Regions from separate parts of the Homo sapiens genome. Here region 2 is linked to region 1. The links are contacts of gene promoters, found by promoter capture Hi-C in human tissues and cell types (Jung and others, 2019). All regions are on one chromosome and are shown on one strand. Each heading gives the region's core, a stretch centred on a gene start or on the middle of the fragment in contact. The rest is flanking DNA. Distances are from core to core; before and after follow the strand shown.

Region 1 (6,457 bases), core at 1,130-3,629:
AACGCTCAATGCCAGGCTCTAGCGGGAATGTAATTGAACATTGTATAATGAAAATTACCAATAACTTGTCAACAGCTATGTTCAAGTCACTCGATTTCCTGTGCTTCAGTTTCATCACCTATTTCCTTCCCAGTGAGCTAAAAACAAAGATGTTAAGGTGCCTCATAGGGTGAAGAAATGAGGAACACACCTTAAAAAATACATAAGGTGATAACTAGAAGGAAAAGAACCAATAACGCCACATTTGGAGTCACTGCCCCCATGGTTACCACCATCACTCGCTCTAAGCCATAACCGGTATGCAGTTCTCTGCAACAGGGGCTCTGAACCTGGGTCCTTGAACCCCACAGGCTGTCATGGGTGTACTTTAAAAGAGGTCTGCCAGCTCTGATCTCTAGGGCAGGAAGCCCAGGACACAAAACTTAAGAACCACTACTATAGTAAACCTTGGCTACAGGTGTACCAAAAACAAACAAAAACAAAAAACACTTACAATGCCAGATGGAGAGGAAAAGTCAGGGAAGATGGCTCAGAAGCCAAGAGAAAAGCATAAGGATCTCACAACAACTACCACCTTCCTAAGCCTCAACTCCCTGGGACATCTATTCAACACTGACCCTGTCTGAAGATAATTTTTTCAAGCAATAACGCCTAGAAGATCATTAATAATAAGGAGAAGAAATGACTGATCATGGAGGACACAAGGCAGAAAAAACCTGAGCTGCCACCCATCCACTACTAAAGACACCTGTCAGAGGGACAACCAAAGGATTTGATGGAGCTTTGAGGGGAGCAGGCAGCTTTATAACAATAGGGTTGTCATGAGTTGCAACTGTGGGGCCATCTTGTGTGCAGTGTGAGAGATGAGAATGGAGTCTGGGTCTGCAGGTCAGACGAAGGATGAAGAGATGAATACTCTAGCCTCTCAGTAGTACCAGCAGGGCGATAGGTACTTCCATACCCCCCCCAAATAAGACCCAAGTCCCAGCTTTGACAAAAGAACCATGTTTGGAAGAGAAACTGAAGTAAATTGGAAGGAAGCGCTTCAACAGGAGGAGAGTGGTTCAAAAGATGGACAAGAGGTAAGTTGTGATCTTCGAAGACCAGGTCATGGAGAAGGGGGCACCCTTAAAGGGAAGTGAGAGAGGGAAAGAAAGAATTTCATTCTAATTCCTGAGAGCAAGGCAGCGCATATAAAATTACCTAAGATTTACAGAGCGATTTGCCGTTTACAAAACATTATGACATTCACGATAACGTTTAATCCTTATCACCCTGAAACGCTGGTTACATTTTATTTTACACATGAGGAAACTGAGGCTGAGTAGGGCGGATTATGCGACTTGCTCAAGGTCACTTGGCTGAAGTCAGCGCTAGGATGCATCCCCAATGCCCCCACCCCTCCGGGTGGCCGTCCACCCTGAAAGTCTTTGTATTATCTCCTACAGGGCAAGGCTGGTGTGGCTGCAACAGACTTCGCCCCCTCACCCCCAAATCTGGGACGGAGCAGCGCCCTCAGGTGTCAAGGAGGGGACCTGAGTGACGCGGAGCCACTGACTGGGGTTTCCCTGTCCTGCGGGGCTCGCGGGAGCCAGGAGCAGAAGCCACAGCTCTCGAACACACGACAGGCAGTCAGTCAAGTCAGGCTCCAGCAGCAGTTGCCGGCGTGGGGCTTAACACGAGAGGGGCAGCGCTGGGTGAATTCCCCTCCGAGCGATCCCAGGGCTAGGACCAAGCGCCTGCGCCCGCTTCTCCGACCCGGCTCCCCACACTCCCCCCTGCCCCGCTGGCTCCTTCCCGGAGGTTCCCCTGTGCGTGGGGGCGCCCTGGAAGAGGAATGGGGCTGGGGTGGAGTATGGAGGTGTCAGAGGGCCGACCCCGGGGCGAGGGCTTCCAACGCCGATCTTATGGGTCAGGACAACCGCGAACAAACCCCGGCTGAAGTTTGGGCATCAAGGGTTTCAGACCAAGTAGCAAGTTGCCTGGAGAGCGAGCGGTCCTAGGTGGAGGGCCTGGGGCAGGGGTGGCGGTAGGGGAACAAGGGAGAGGCAGGAGATGGTGCCCCTTCCCACGCAGCCCCTCGCGGCCCCGCGGGTAGGTGGCCGGTCCGCCTCTGCAGCCCGCGGGTGCGGAGAAAGCGCCCGGCACCGGGCACCCGGCACCGCGGCGCAGCGCAGCCAGCCCCTCCTCGCCGCGCTCCGCGCTCCTCCCCACCTGCCCACGGCCTCGCCCCCGCCGCGGAGACTCACAGTCCTCAGAAACTGGATCTCGTCCTCGCCTCCTTCTCCCCCTTCGGCCATGGCTCCCGAGGCGTCGGCGGTGCCCCAGCCTCCGGCGCCTCTGCTTCCCCCGGCAGCCGCTCGGCGTGCGCTGACTGCTGCTGCGCTCTTTCTCCTCCTCCTTTTCGTCCTCGTCCTCCACCTCCTCCTCCAGCTCCTGGCTCAGCCTCAGCCTCAGCAGCGCCAAGCTAATCCCCGACCATATAGGGAGCTGGGCTAACACTCCACTGCACTGCAGAGCGCCAACGCCAACCAAGCAGTCCGCCCACCCCTCTCGCCTCTCGCCCCAGCCAAGTGCGCTGCGGCCGCCCGCTCCGTGGAGAGCGCAACGCTGGGCGCGTCGAGCTGGCGGGGGCGGTGCGGGGGCCCTGGGCTGGCGCGGTGGAGCCTCCCCCGCACCGCTGGGTACCGCACCGCACACTCAGCGGAGGCGCGCGCCCCGCGGCGACCGGAGGATGTCCCCTAAACTGCTCCAATTCACAAACAAAGGCCAGTTGCTTAGCTCCAGCGCGCCCAGACTGGGTACCAACCCTCTCGCTTTGCTCGCTTTGCCCGCTTTGCCCACTTTGCCTGTGTGTGTGTGTGTGTGTGTGTGTGTGTGTGTGTGTGTGTGACAGAGATAGAGAGAGAGAGAGAGGAAAGAGAGAGACAGAGACAGAGAGAGAGAGAGAGGAAAGAGAGAGACAGAGACAGAGAGACAGAGAGAGGAAAGAGAGAGAGACAGAGACAGAGAGAGAGAGAGAGAGAGAGAGAGAGATCTGGACTCGAATACCTTGCTAGGACCCGCGTGCATTGTTGGGCAAGGAGAAGACGGTGCAGTGAGGAGCGAGGGTGATTGTCCACTTACAACAAAGTTTGCAACTCCCTGGATAGTCCTTTCTACACCTTAAGAGAACCCCTTCCCCTCTTCAAAATTGGTAAGTACACTTTACCAAACCCCTGGATTGTCCAGGGTTGCTGTGACTTCTGTACCCCAGGGAGCTTCTGGGGGATCCTGTGCCACCCTCAATTTGGAAGTCAGGTGGCATCACAACCCTTCCTCTCTGCCCACCCCTAACCTTATTCTGCATTTAGAGTTCCAGCCCTGTGGACTCTAAAGGGAGTAGAGAGTAGTTACAGGAGGCTCCCTTCCAGGTCCTGGAAGGCTCCTACATCCCACCCAGCCTTAGGTCCTTTTCCATGGTTGGGGATTGCCAGATTGGTCCTTGCCTTGACTGACGGTGCAGGGTGCCCCCTTCTGTTTGATGGCCGAGAAGCTCCAAGGCAAGAGACTGTTCAAGGCAAAAGGCACCAGAGATGTAGATTTAGGAGGAAGTGCAACTGGGAAGGTGGTAATTCTGGGCTGATGATGGTGGAAGACACTGGAAACCCCAAGCCATTTCACAGCTTCATATACCGCCTCCTTGTGGACGACATCTATCTCTTGATGCTACCTTAAGATCTCTTTCCTGAGCTTCCGTCCCATATGTTCTGATGAACATCAGAAATGCAAAGAAAAATGTTTTTTTCTTGTATTGTACTCAAACTGCTACCTTCTAGGCTTCAGCTTGGGCCTTGTGCCTCTTCTGAAACCCGCCTAGAATAAGTCAAACCATCTGTACATTGTGGCCCTTCACCTCTTAGAAGGCATCTGCCATGCTTGCCTCTATGGCCCACCATCCACTCTTTTCTTCTCCTGGCTCAAGGTTCTTCTTAGCCCCAACTTTCCCTGTAGTATAGTTTCCAGAGCCTATGTCATCTTTGATGGCCATATGAGCATTCCAGGTGGTCTTCTTCCTGAATTGTTGTGCTCTCCGTCCTTGTTTTGGACAGTCTTTATGTGCAGCCTAATATTGGATTGGCTTCTGGAGAAACACTAATGACACTCACTGTGTTTGGAGTTAACTAGAATTTCTAGATTTACTTTTTTCCTCCCACGTGAACTGCAAAAGTCAGCTCTTCTCCATCTTGATCACATGCAAGTGCTTGAGTACCTGTGGGCACGGTGGCTCACGCCTATAATCTCAACACTTTGGGAGGCCAAGGCGGGTGGATCACCTGAGGTCGGCAGTTCGAGACCAGCCTGACCAACATGGAGAAACCCCATTTCTACTAAAAAAAAAAAAAAAATACAAAATTAGCCGGTCGTGGTGGTGCATGCCTGTAATCCCAGCTACTTGGGAGGCTGAGGCAGGAGAATCGCTTGAACCCGGGAGGTGAAGATTGCCGTGAGCCGAGATCATGCCATTGCACTCCAGCCTGGGCAACAAGAGCGAGACTCTGTCTCAAAAATATGTGTGTGTGTGTGTGTGTGTGTGGGTGGGTGTGTGTGTGTTCCTTCCAATTGTAATACCCAATCATGTATTGATGTCTCTATATGTGAACCTTTAAGGTATTTTTAAAGCTAGAGTATGCCAGGCAAGGTGCTAATTATTACTAACCTGTGATATGGCATACCTTCAGAATACTAATAGAGGCCCTCTTGGATTAACTTTCATACTTTTGATTATGCTTAATATGGCATACCTTCAGAATACTAATAGAGGCCCTGTTGGATTAACTTTCATACTTTTGATTATGCTTATTTAATGATCAAGAACTTACCTAAGTCAGAAAAATAATACCTATTGAGTACTATGCTTATTACCTGCGTGACAAAATAATCTGTACACCAAACCTCCATGACATGCAGTTTACTTATGTAACAAACCTACATATGTACCCTTGAACCTAAAATAAAAGTTATAATTAAAAAATAACCTACATAAATATATTATTTTGCAGCCCAAATTTCTTCTTGTTCATAGGGCTACTATAAATGCCTTTCTTACATACTTTACTGAAATACAGATATGTAATCTGGGACACCACCTCCCGCATCAGTCAAATAACCCTACCACAAAAGAAGTAAGAATGGAGTTCTGTAACACCATTGGTGCATCCACTTGGATTCCTGATGGTCTTTGTGTTCCTTTAGAGTTCCCAAAAGTAAGCTGTTTAATTATCAAAATCTAAGATTGTTCTGGAGCTCAGCGTATAAAAGAGTCTCAGGCTGTTGTTTCAGACTGTAAACTGGGGAAGGTGGACATTTACTTCTATTTGAAATCTATTGGTACTTCTTCCATTCTCTAAGATTTCCCAAAGATGCACCAATAATGATGCTGTAGTCATACAGGTACAGATAAATAGTAGTTCAGACACTGTGCTTTGATACTTGTTTTGCTATTAGTTCACCCATTAAGACCGGGAGAGAATAAACTAATAGTAAGTTACTTGTCTAAATTCATACATCTAGTAAAAGGAGTCACACAATCTCCTCTTACTTGGAGTAAAACAATCTCAATACTTTTCAGTACTTTCTCCACTATAGTGCCTTGCTTCTAGAACAGCAAAGTGGAAAACATCAGGTTCATACACCACCTCCATGCCCCCATACCCCATACACATTGGGTTTGCTTCCACACAGCCTATATTTTAAACTGAGTCTCTCTCAAGACCAGTTACTCTTAGTAGAGAGCCGGAGGACTTGGACCTTAGGTCTTAGAGGGTACTGTAGCTACTACATTTTGAAAGAAAAACCCAAAGCCTCCCAGGTTTCTAAACCTCTGGAGAAAGCTATCAGCCATTATTATGACTTCAATTAGGTGCACACAACAGGGAAATCAAATACCTTTGGGATACTGGCATGGTTCAAAGTCAGACCTCAAAGCCTGCTGTATTTGAATGTTGGGGCACTCTGCAGCCAATATCAACAGCAGGTGGAGAGCCTGTAGTGGGGGCCAAATCAGAAATTTTTCATTTTTATCATTATAGCACTTTTATACCTTTTACATATACAATTTTAAAGGCCTGACATTGAAATATTGTTATTCAATATTGACTATTGAAATAAAATTCATGTATTTATTTTCTCCTCTGGAGGTTCTCAAAGTATTGGTCCTAAGGATTTTCTCACATAAGAGGGCCTCTTATTTGTGTTTTAACAGTAATATTGCTATAGTTTTAAAATGCTAATGAAAATGTCCACACTCATATAAGTCAGTATCTCATTTGCTATGTTGTATTATTCATGGTAGCCAGTTGCCCAAGTGGTCTCAATGAGGCCAAGGATATGGATTCAGTTCTAGGAGGGCCAGTTAGCTTCACTCCATTTGCTGTCCAAAGACTCTGGCCCCTTCATTCTGGTTAAAAGTCTCATA
Region 2 (6,437 bases), core at 3,456-5,955, 45 kb before region 1:
ATCCAAAGACCAGAATCAACCCAAATATTCATATCAGCAGGTGAACTGGTAAACTGTGATATATCCATACAAAGTCATAGTACTCAGTAATGAAAAGGAATAAACTTCTGGTACATGCCGTAACATAGATCAATCTCAAAAACATTATGCTGAGAAAAAGAAATCAGGCACAAAAGAGCATATACTGTAGGATTCCATGTACACAAAATTCTAGAAAAGACAAACCTAATCTATAGTGATAGAAAGCAGGTCAGTGACGGCCTGGGGCTGGGAGTGGGAGATGGGCAGGGACTGACTGTGGAGGGGTGGGGGAAACTGTCCTATCTCACGACTGTAAGAGTGATTATACAGGTCTACTTGTCAAATGATTCATTTGAATGGGCACTATTTTTGCATTCAAGTGATATCTCAAAATTTATTTATATGGAGCACCGCCACGAGTCAAGTACTAAGTGCTGGAATATGATATGAACAAAACAAAATCCCGGAACTTGTGAAACTTACAGTCTAAAGAGGAGAGACAGATAATCAATGCATAAAAATAGATTCAATTCATAATGATAAATGCCATTAAAAAAATAAAGCAGGGTAAGGGTATGGAGAGTATCATAGGCACTATTTAAATAAGGGGTCAGGAGGCCGGGCCCGGTGGCTCACGCCTATAATCCCAGCACTTTGGGAGACCGAGGCGGACGGATCACGAGGTCAGGAGATCGAGACCATCCTGGCTAACACAGTGAAACCCCGTCTCCACTAAAAAATACAAAAAAAATTAGCCAGGCTTGGTGGTGGGCGCCTGTAGTCCCAGCTACTTCGGAGGCTGAGGCAGGAGAATGGCGTGAACCCAGGAGGCAGAGCTTGCAGTGAGCCGAGATCGCGCCACTGCACTCCAGCCTGGGTGACAGAGTGCGACTCCGTCTGAAAATAAATAAATAAATAAATAAATAAATAAATAAATAAATAAGGGGTCAGGGAAGGCCTCTCTAAAAAGACTGTGTTTGAGCAGAAACCTCAGTGAAGTGAAAGGCTGAGAGAGGATGTGAGCCATGGGGCTATCTGGGGAAAGAGTATCCCAAGTACTGACAACAGGACATGCAAAGGCCCTGGGGCAGAGTGGTGTCTGGTGCAGTTGAGAAACAGCAGGGAAGCTGCTGAGGCTGAAGCCAAGGGAGGAAGGTGAAGAGTCGGGAAAATAAAGACACACAGGGGCTTTAAAGACTGTAGGAAGACTGTAGGTGAGGAATTTGGAATTTAAGTACGCTGGAAAGTGAGTAGAGGCCTTTGTCTGTTTGTTGTGTTGTTATTGTTGTATTTTTTCTGAAAGAGAAGAAAAATGCTTTGATATTATCTGTGTTTTAAGAGTATCATGTTGGTTGCTGTGAAGAGAAGAGGTGGAAGTGGGTAAAGATGGAAGCAATAGTTATGAGACTATCACACCGTTGGAGCAAGAGATGACAGGGGCCTAAACTAGGGTGTAACAGTGGAGAATGTGTTCAGGGTAAATTTGGAGAGTAGAGTTCCTACTTCATAGGTTGGCTCTGAAGAAACACTGAAAAGTATTTAGAATGCTCTAAGCACCTGAAAAATACTTAAAATACTCAAAGCACATGAAATAGTGCTTAGAAAAGTACTTAGAATGTTCGAAAGAAAATGAGCTTAGAATAGTGCCTAGCACCTAGTTAAGCCCTCAGCCATGTGACCTAGGATTGCCACTCTTCTTTGGTAAAAGAACACTCATCGTCCCTCAGGAGAAGAAAGTGCCTCATTATTTTGGTCAAAAGATTGTAAGTCTCATTTTTATAAATTTAACTACCGCTAAGGCGCTAGGTACTGCAAAAGAAGCAAAATCTAACAGAGTATTAAAATTAAGTTTAAACCAAGTCCTTTTTTTTTTTTTTTTTTAACGATACCACTTCCCAGATTTCAACAAGTGTGACAAGGCATTTAAATCAAATCTTTTGTGGGGCAGGGATTAAGGACCACAGCTGCACCACAGTCCTGGGCTGACTCATGGCCAGTCACCACGTCTCTGCAGCCTTTTCACAGAAGTACAAAAGTGTTTTCTTTGTGGAGACAGGACTTAATTTGATGCATTTCAACCCTGTCTAAATTCCCCTCTTTATGGGCCAGACAGATATACTGTCAAACAAATTCCAAGTAAGCCAAACAGAGGCTGAGAGAATTTGTCAGTGGAGAAAGGCAAGTTTCACTTATTGTTGATAGACTGAGTTCCAGATGGGCAGCAGTGCCTCAGTAGGTAGAGTGCCCAGCAAAGGGGCAGACCCTGCACCCCACTAAGCACTTTCTGGGGACCTGGCAGCTTGTTCTTAACCTGGAAAATAAGTCCATGAAGTCGGCATTATTATCCTCACTTTACCAAGGAGGAAAGCAAGGCTCAGAGGAGATATACAACTTGTCAGTGGTCACTCAGCCAGGATTGGACCCAACCTGACTCCATACTCTTCCCATGACTCTACTCTACCAGCTTAGAAGAAAGTAATTAGAGGTTAAGAGCGTGCCCTGACACATGCTGCTCAGGTAAAAGGCACTGATGTATGCTTTTGCCCCTGGCAAATGCAAGGACAGAATCACTTACTGGCTACACTGCTGTAAGAGTTTGGACACAGCCCTCCTTCTAGTAAAGTTTTTCCATCTGATCCAACGTAAGTTTGCCATTCATGTAAAATACTTCCGTGTAAAAGAACCAAAACATGATTAGGCTCGCTGGTGACTGCTGGGGGCGGTGCTGGGGGAAGATTACCCTGTATGTTTGTTTTAAAATAGTCAATAATGTCCAATTAATGAAGGAACAGGTTGTTTCTTAAAATACTTATAAATGAAGGTGGAGTTTTCTTTTTTTAAGTGAAAGCAAGTTTATTAAGAAAGTAAAGGAATAAAGAATGGCTACTCCATAGGCAGAGCAATCAAACTCTAAATTTTCTATGATATCAATAGATTATTGCCTGTTTTAAGCAGGCACTATAAAATAACCTGCAAGACAAAAATGCAGGAAGTTGGAAAATCTGGATGTGTTAGCTGGAGAACAGGGTTCTGATTTTAAAATTTGAAGGTTTTGAATGCCAGAAAAATTCTAAAATGTAAGAGGGTATTGACAGGTGAGGGTGACAAAGGGTGACCCTTGTGTCACTAGAGAGGAGAGTGATACCCAGGTTGTGCCCTCACCTACCGGGACTCACCTTTTCTCTTGTCCAATGTGGAAATTAAGTTTTCCAAAACAAGTAAATTCATAAAGGACAGGATTGCTGTTTTTGTTTGTTTTATTAAGAAAATCTTTCTTGATCCATTCAAGACCAGATCTGAAGTTATTTTAAAGAAACCCAGCAGTGTCCACATAATTCAGGTCTGATAAGTGGCAGAAGTAGGGCTGGGCCCTCCTTCAAAATTTTTAGACTTCTGTTTGCTGCAAACACCACATATGTCCAGGACCAGGCCACGTGGTAGGAAAGCAAAGTCAGAGGTGGCATACAGGCAGGGAAAGCAGGTGAGATAGACAAGTGAAGGATGGGACACGACACCTTCCACTTCCTAAAGACCCTTCCAAGAGAACAGAGCATGAGTCACCAGCCATAAGGAATCACTCCTTTCCAAAGAAGCATCCAGGATACATTACCTAGTAATAAATGGTATTGCTCAACTATGGCCCCCGAAGGCCTATTTTTCCATATTATAATTATTACTACCTGTGATTTACTGGATTCTTACTATATGCCACATTAGAGGAGAGTTAAATGCTACATTAGTTCTCAGAGAGCAAACCTCAATCTTACCTTACTAAATGGCACACACAGAAAAAATCTACAGATGAGGGAACAGAGAGTATCTACTTATAATTTGCAAGTATCTACTTATACTTACACTTACTCCTTACTACTTACCTCTCTCATTTAATCCTCAAAATAAACATATTATGTGTCTATAATCATTCTCATTTTACTAAGGGAGAAAGTAAAATTCAGAGAGATTATACATAATTTTGTTTATTTTGATATGTTCTTAATTATCATTATTTCTTAGATCTGTGCCACTATGTCCATAGAGAAAAGTCCACAAATTCAAATTCAGACTTCTAAGCCTACCTGCAAAGTGGCAGACTGTAACCAGAGGGCCACTTTCATGTGGATCACCCTCACCTACTCTTATTTTTCTCACTTGTTTATGATGGAAACAAAAATAACACTAACGACTGAAATTTAGACACAGCATATCACAAAGCACACCAGCATACTTCATTGCAGCCTTGTGACAATGCTGTGAGGTAGAAATGACAGTTATTCTGCTTTAAGAGAAAAGGGATCTTAGGTTTAGTTGAGGTTATAAAGATTGCCAGAGGTATCTAGTAAGAGTCAGACATAAGACTAACACGGACCTTCTCACTCCAAAATTCCTTTCCAAATAACCATGCTGCTCCTTCACTTAGATTCATGGAACCTCATCGTATGCATGATTCACAAATCTATACTCACAGTTCTTATCTATCTCTGAAACTGAGAACCCCCCGCCATCCATCTGCAGGAAATCTCCACCTGAATGTCCTACAGCTGAAGGTCTCACTCTTCTGTTTCTCTCACAGTATCTACTACAGGGTTCTATATGAAGCAGGCACTTAACAAGTTTTGAATAGACAAATGACATATTTCAAAGGAAAAAGGAGAAAGAAGCCAATAACTGAGCTGAATTGTGTGGCGGGAACCTAGGGAGTATAGGGATCAGACAGATACTAAGTTCTCATCCTCTCCACCCAAGATGAATATCATTGGCACCGGTTATACCTAGCTAGGGGATCAGGGATGAGAAGCAGCCATCTTCTTCTGGTGGCCCAAGTGACAAAGGGCCTCCATATAGTCAGCTACAATGGAAGCAACACCAGCCTGGAAGGTTTTAGACACTCTTGATGACTAGATTAAAGGCTCTTTAAAATTACCTAAGAAAATATGGCAGAAGAGAAGCCTAAAGATTAAATCGTGGCTTTGATTGTCTTATGACTTCCACAGCATTTGCGAACCTATCTCTGATGCTTATTAGCGATGTCAGCTTTCACAAACACCTTAAAGTTTTTCAACCTCAGTTTCCTTACATGTACAGTAGGAAAAATAACATACATCTCATAGGGTTGCTGGGAAGGCTGCTATGTGATGCTATAGGTACCATATGATGCTAAATAAATATTAATTACCATAAGCACGAGTCTTATTCTCCTGGCCATTAAATAATATAATATGACTGCAAGTTAGAAACCTTCACATTTAAATAGTGAATTCATAATTTTGCCTGATCTCATGCTTTGTGTTTTGGAAAATATAAAGATGACAAGTCTGGCCAAGCCAACTAATACATGATTTTTTTTTTTTTTTTTTGAGGGAGTTTCACTCTTGTCCCTCAGGCTGGAGTGCAATGGCACGATCTCAGCTCACTGCAACCTCCGCCCCCCAGGTTCAAGCGATTCTCCTGTCTTAGCCTCCTGAGTAGCAGGGATTACAGGCGTGTACCACCACGCCCGGCTAATTTTTGTATTTTTAGTAGAGACGGGGTTTCACCATGTTGGCCAGGCTGGTCTCAATCTCCTGACCTCAAGTGATCTGCCCGCCTCGGCCTCCCAAAGGGCTAGCATTACAGGCATGAGGCCACTGCACTCGGCCCCAACTAATACATGATCTTGGTTGTAGGAATAATTCATGATGAATGCTGCCGAAAGGTGGTTTTCAACTGATCCTGTCAGAGACAGGCCAATAAAGTCCAACTACTTTACTTGTGAATTGCTAAGGAAATTGAGCATCACGGAAAATAGTAAGCTTCCAGATCAACCTTGATAAACCACCTCCTGAAAGAAAGATGTACTTATTTTATAAAGAGTATATGTGAGAGTTAGTGAGAAACTACTCCCACACCACAACTTCCCACCAAGCACAGAAAGCTGATTAAATCAATTCCAGGGCAGGCTTGCAAAGAAGATGAAAGGCTTGGCATTCTTGAATAATAACAAGTCAAGAGCTGCATTATGAAGTGATACTTGACACTTAGCAGTTTTTCTTTTTTGTAAAGATGCTCTCATTTACAGGATTTTGAAATGACTTTGAGCATTTCCCCATGGGTAGGTTCAAGGCTTCATAGGTGACATTAGTCAAAATGTTTGCACTTGTGTGTGCAGTTTGCAGAAAGAAAGCAAACAAGAGGCAATGCTCTACCAGAAGTGAGGGAGGGCAGACCAGATTCCAATGTGAGAAATAAAGCTGGGTGGATAGGAACACTAAGAAATGGGCATCTTACTACATGGTTCTTTCACAGTGGTTTCTTGGTAGATGCTGCAGAGAGGCTGAATTTAACAGCTGTAGGTTGACTGCCTCTCAAAGGAATTCTCATAGATGCCACCTGTATCTGAGAAAATGGGATGTTAAACATTTATGTTGGGCAGTAACAAT

What was found. Contacts are between HindIII fragments. The study calls those that stand out against the background at their distance.
Region 2: a contact is called between a fragment that was not itself captured here and the fragment with the promoter of RYR3 in region 1, in 4 of the 25 tissues and cell types used here (dorsolateral prefrontal cortex, hippocampus, pancreas and 1 more).

Annotation. Positions count from the first base shown.
Region 1 is chr15:33,306,889-33,313,345 of GRCh38, reverse strand. RYR3 (ryanodine receptor 3) reads right to left here and starts at 2,379. Exons shown (of 104, transcript NM_001036.6): 1 at 2,250-2,379. The coding sequence starts at 2,300. RYR3-DT (RYR3 divergent transcript) reads left to right here and starts at 2,687. Exons shown (of 3, transcript NR_120327.1): 1 at 2,687-2,768. RefSeq lists enhancers at 1,137-1,646, 1,647-2,158. The HindIII fragment of the contact is 9,811 bases long and covers 1-6,457 here.
Region 2 is chr15:33,354,121-33,360,557 of GRCh38, reverse strand. All of the region lies in intron 1 of RYR3 (ryanodine receptor 3), which reads right to left. Among named protein-coding and RNA genes, the nearest start is that of RYR3, 46 kb to the right of the region's middle. The HindIII fragment of the contact is 6,688 bases long and covers 1,362-6,437 here.